Linked DNA regions of Homo sapiens: region 1 is linked to region 2. The links are contacts of gene promoters, found by promoter capture Hi-C in human tissues and cell types (Jung and others, 2019). All regions are on one chromosome and are shown on one strand. Each heading gives the region's core, a stretch centred on a gene start or on the middle of the fragment in contact. The rest is flanking DNA. Distances are from core to core; before and after follow the strand shown. Region 1 overlaps ABL1 (ABL proto-oncogene 1, non-receptor tyrosine kinase). Region 2 holds the start of FUBP3 (far upstream element binding protein 3).

Region 1 (2,716 bases), core at 107-2,606, 280 kb after region 2:
ATGGTGTGTCCCCCAACTACGACAAGTGGGAGATGGAACGCACGGACATCACCATGAAGCACAAGCTGGGCGGGGGCCAGTACGGGGAGGTGTACGAGGGCGTGTGGAAGAAATACAGCCTGACGGTGGCCGTGAAGACCTTGAAGGTAGGCTGGGACTGCCGGGGGTGCCCAGGGTACGTGGGGCAAGGCGTCTGCTGGCATTAGGCGATGCATCTGCCTGGAAGTCTACCTCCTGCCTGCTGTCCGAGGGCTTCATTGGCGCCACGGAATTGACTTTTCCGTCTTATATCATTCCTGTGTCTTTGTAGGAGTGGAATCATTCTCATAGTCCGAGTGTGTTTCCACATATGGTGAGAGCTGACAAGCATGGAGGGGTTTTGGTGTAAAAAGATTAGTCATTTGGAGAGGTTTTCTCATTTTATGGCAAGGTTCTTTTAAAGCCGTGGATTTCCATGCTGTTCGTGCGGCATGGAGATCACTTCCTACCGAGAGTTAAGGAGGAAAAAAAGATCTCTGAGTTTTGAAAGAAGATTTAACCAAAATGCATTTGACTCTTCTGTGGATTTTTGTTGGCTGATTTGGAAGGCAGGTGCCCTGGGCATCCCCAGTGGGTTCCAATTCTGCAGCTGCCCAGACTCCTGCAGGCAGAGGTGGAAGTGTCCCCGCTAGAAAGGCATCCAGGAAACTCGCTTTTGACCAACTCAGATACAGTCTGGTCTTTCTTGTTAACTGGGACTTTACCCTCTCCACTAATGAATAGTGTTTGTAGTTTCCAGGCAGGTTTTTTTCTTCTTTTGAAGTTCTTTGAAACCCTTAGGACGCCAAGGGAAGGAAGTTTTCATTTTCAGCCCTTTGCATTCTTCAAAATGTGATCCAGGCTTTTCCCTGTGGCGAGGGTGTCCCCTAGTGTTGACTTACATTATTTCCACTTGTTTTAAATGAACTTTGATTACCTTGACCTGTGCACAGAAATCAAGAGAGGCAGCCCCTTTTTAGAGCTGTTAGAAAAGAACTGAAACATCCACCTCTGGGAAAAATAGAGTTTAGTTTGTGCATGTGTCTCAGAAGTCAGGTGCACACATTGAGACTGGTGCAGCCACATGCCTGCCTTTTAGGGACTCCTTGACTGACCTGATGCCTTCACCCAAAGGCATAGTGAAATGGGAAGTATGATTTCTGACTGGTATGAAGTGGCTGCTTTAGAGAAAAGATCACATTCTTTAGTCCTAGAAACCAAAGGTGGCTTCCTGATGCTCTTATTCAGCACGTGCCTGTCTTTGAGGCAGGACTGGCACTGGGGTGGGGGCATGGTTTGGGGTTACCTTAAGGACCCTGGATATTTCTCAGATAGGACTTTTTCTTTTCTTTTTTTGAGACGGAGTCTTACTCTGTTGCCTAGGCTGGAGTGCAGTGGCATGATCTCAGCTCACTGCAACCTCCGCCTCCCCAAATTGGCGATTCTCCTTCCTCAGCCTCACGAGTAGCTGGGATTACAGGCACCCGCCACCACACCCAGCTAATTTTTGTATTTTTAGTAGAGATGGGGTTTCGCTGTGTTGGCCTGGCTGGTCTCAAACTCCTGACCTCAAGTGATCTGCCTACCTCAGCCTCCCAGAGTGCTGGGATTATAGGCATGAGCCACCACACCCGGCCCTGGACTTTTTCTTAATTGAATAAATATTTATCAAGTTCTTCACTTCTATTTGACGGTTCCTGGGCTCAACACTGGATTAGAAAATGAATGGGACAGAGTTCTTCATCTGAGACATAGGGTGGTCCAGGTAGTAGGAGGAAGAAGGATTGCAGCGCAGCAGTCCTCGGGACACCACCAGGGGGTGAACGAAGGAGGGACGGGGGAGCTGTGCAGGTGCCCCAGCTCCTTGGGTTGCACAGGGTTGAAGACCAGACCCAAGAAATGGGGCCTTGACCAGCTCAGCAAACTGAGAATGGCCTAGATTTCAGCACACTTTCACCAGGATTTGTCAAATGAAGGAAGATTCCAAGCGCAAAATACCCTAGATTTCAACCAGTAAAAGCTTGTCTGAAAACTTCCAAGATCGGGTTGTACAACTTGACATTTGAGGAAACGCTACTTCAGTAGATGGTGCTGTGGCATTGTTTTCTGAACAACTGAAGGAGGAGACTCCAGAGAAGGGTACCTGCTGGAGACCTGTGTGGTTTGTGGGGTGGGTTTCTTATATCACTGAATCTAAAGTGGGTGCCTTTCAGAATGTGCTTTACTAATAATGTGTTACTCTGCTTTTAATTATACTTCTAATAATTTTTCCCAAGAGCCTAATTAACTTACGATCTCACAGTTGGTAAAGAATTACAGGATGTCATTGCGTGGATTTCTGTGGGCAGTCACCCGGAGTGGTATCTAATTAGGGAAAAGGCAGTATGTCCCTTTCTGGAAGTGTGTTAACTGAAAATACGGTACTAAGCAACTGCTAAATAAATTAGCCCTCCTTCCTCCTGGCCGTGCGCAGAAACATCCCTGCAGTATGTTGCCTATTTGTCAAATAAGATTAGTGTAAATATGGGGCATTTACCTTTGCTATAGAAGCTGAAATTGCCAGGCACGGTGGCTTACGCCTGTAATCCCAGCACTTTGGAAGGCCAAGGCTGGTGGATTGCTTGAGCCCAGGAGTTAAAGACCAGCCTGGGCAACATGGCAAAACTCTGCCTCTACAAAAAATACCAAAAATCAGCCA
Region 2 (2,700 bases), core at 155-2,654:
GTTATTGGTCAAGTATTCCTCATACTTCTTTAGAATGCCCAAAGCTCTCTTGGCATAATGACACAGTGAGGGGTGAGGGTGGGGTCATCAAGGAAAGTTATATGGGACTTTTTTCCCCAAGAAAGGGTCTTGCTCTGTCACCCACGCTGTACTGCAGTGGCGTGATCATAGCTCACTGCAGCCTTGACCTCCAGGGCTCAGGTGATCCTCCCACTCCAGCCTCCCAAGTAGCTGGGACTACAGGTGTTTGCCACCACGCCCAGCTAATTATATTTTTTGTAGAGACGGGGTCTCACTATGCTGCCTAGGCTGGTCTTGAATTTCTGGGCTCAAGAGTTCTGCCTGCCTTGGCCTCCCAAACTGCTAAGATTACAGGCGTGAGCTACCGCACCCGGCCCGTATTGGATTTTATTTATTTCCTTTTCTTGGTGCTCATCCTCCTTCACAACTTCAAGATGGGCATAAGATGTTTGACAACATGGTTCTTCATTAAGTCCAACTCCTTATCATAATAGGGCTTGGGAAATATTAAACACGAGGGCAATCGTGCTAACACAAAAATGGGCGCCCCCTAAACCTTGTTACTTGTTTGCTCACTTATAAGAAGAGCCAACTCAAAGGCTCAACTGAATTCTAGCACTAAGATTCCTTCCTTGCTGTAGAAGATCTGTACCTGGTCACTTCCATTAAAGTTACATAGGCGTTCCAAGAAGCCTCCTGCAATACAGTTGTGACTCAGCCGGTATGGGAGTAATGACGGTCCTGTGGTATTTCCTGCACCCCCAGAGTCCCAGAGTTTGTTAAGGACCGTGTAAGAGGACACCACGCTGGCTTTTCAGTGGGCGCGTCTCTCCTGGGGGCATCACCAGACAACCCCAGGCGGAAGTGGCGGTGGCCCATCCTCATGCAAACTGCAGTGTAAGAACTGGGGCCCGGGACTCCTCGCAAATGTGGGACACTGACATTCTGTGATGCTGTCCCAATGCCCTTTCAAAGCGCTCAGCCCCCAAATTCCCAACCAACAGCCATTTCAGGGAGGGGCTACCCAGGACCAGGCTTTTGATGAACCACGACTGTTCGGGGTGCCGTCTTGGGAGAGCCACGTCAGTCCCTCTGAGATTCCAAACGGCCGACAGCGGACACCTCGGGACCACATCCAAGCCTCGGGGACCTGTCAAGACGCCATCGACGGTCCTGGACCAAATCCCGCCCGGGAAGGGAAGGGTCGCGACCGGACCCTGGAGACCCACGGCTGCCTGGCGATCTGAGCCCACCCCGGCGCTGCCGTCCCGCCCCCACTTCCGATCGGTCGAAGGTCACGTGCCCTGACCCCGCCCCGCAGACGCGACTCCTCCAGCTGCGAGCGTCCCGGCTTTCCCTTCCGCCGGAAGTAGGGCGACTTTCCTTTTCCGGCTACGGGTCCCCAAGCGGAGCGGGAGGCCGGACCGGGGAGCCGAGCGGCGGCGTCGGCGGCGTCGGCGGCGGCGGCGACGGCGGCGGGGGCGGTAATGGCGGAGCTGGTGCAGGGGCAGAGCGCTCCTGTGGGGATGAAGGCCGAGGGCTTCGTGGATGCCCTGCACCGGGTCCGGCAGGTACGGGCGCAGCCGGCTGGCAGGAGCACGAGATCCCGAGGCGGGGCCTGGCGGGCGGGGAAGAGGGGTTCGGGCCTGGGGGGCGGGAGGCAGCCTGAACCGACGTCTCAGCCGGGCCGGGCCGTTCCGTGGAGTTCCTACAGCCGGGAGGAGCCGGGGGGATAAGGCGCCACTGCGAGGCCCAGGCCCGGCCTGTCGGGCGGGTCTCCCAGGTGCCTGAAGTCGCTGGGAAAGGGTTTGCTTAGAGCGTCTGGCCCCATCGTGCCCCAGCGGCCAGCCTGGACCCACAGTGTAGCTAGCGCGGGGTTCTGAACCTCGCGAGGGGAGGGGTCCGGGAAGCCCACGGGGAGGATCTGGGTGTAGACATAAAGCAGCTGTCTGACGCCCAGTAGCTTGTTAAAACTTGGGGAACATCGTCTTTAGACTTTCTGTTGAGTAGAAGGAACTCGAGGGCATCTTATATGTGAGGGTGCTCTTTGGAGAGGTGAGAGAGGGAGGTGTTACATGTGTGGGGGTGGTCCCCAAGATGTAGAAATTTCTCATGGCAAGCTTGCCTCTACTGGGGAGAATGATATGGCCTCATTCCGACATTGAAACTTTACTGTCTGACAATGTCGTGCATTTAATCAAAGTTAAATTAACTGGGTTTTAGAAGGCTCCAGGCTTCCCCAGAGAGTGAATATGGGACCTGCCAAAAATACTTACTGGCTTCTGGCATGGTACTTAGAACAGAACGTGTTCTTCATTTGTATCTAAAACTTACTTACAAGTCAGCCCTAACACTTCAGCTTCCTCGGTTAAGTGTCTTATGTCCTCCTCTCTTCTTATGTAATTGTAAGCGCACTGATACTTTAAAAGTTGGGCTATAACTAATTACTGCTTGATTCCTAACAGAAAGCCACAGGAGTCATTGTATTAGAAGAAGGTCTTCACTCGGGCGCTTGAAGATATGGTCTTTACATCTCTTTCCAGTATTCCAGGGGAGGGAACCCTACCTGTTTCCCTGATAACTGACTTTTCATGTTATATATTGATGCTCCTATAGACATTATATTGGATCCCAGAACTTTCCAAACCTGTGGTTCCACCTAAAATTTTATCTGATGAA

What was found. The method cuts DNA at HindIII sites, captures the fragments that hold promoters and counts their contacts. A contact is called where the count stands out against the background at its distance.
Region 1: a fragment that was not itself captured here is called in contact with the fragment with the promoter of FUBP3 in region 2 in 4 of the 25 tissues and cell types used here (IMR-90 fibroblasts, aorta, lymphoblastoid cells and 1 more).

What each region holds. Positions count from the first base shown.
Region 1 is chr9:130,862,890-130,865,605 of GRCh38, forward strand. ABL1 (ABL proto-oncogene 1, non-receptor tyrosine kinase) reads left to right here. Exons shown (of 11, transcript NM_005157.6): 4 at 1-146. Among named protein-coding and RNA genes, the nearest start is that of ABL1, 29 kb to the left of the region's middle. RefSeq lists enhancers at 1-98, 99-599. The HindIII fragment of the contact is 6,876 bases long and covers 1-2,716 here.
Region 2 is chr9:130,578,173-130,580,872 of GRCh38, forward strand. It overlaps FUBP3 (far upstream element binding protein 3), which reads left to right and starts at 1,405. Exons shown (of 19, transcript NM_003934.2): 1 at 1,405-1,592. The coding sequence starts at 1,509. It overlaps LOC100272217 (a long non-coding RNA gene), which reads right to left and starts at 1,322. Exons shown (of 1, transcript NR_027440.1): 1 at 1-1,322. LOC124902286 (a long non-coding RNA gene) reads left to right here and starts at 1,668. Exons shown (of 2, transcript XR_007061818.1): 1 at 1,668-2,076; 2 at 2,487-2,700. RefSeq lists a silencer at 1,353-1,722. The HindIII fragment of the contact is 10,079 bases long and covers 1-2,700 here.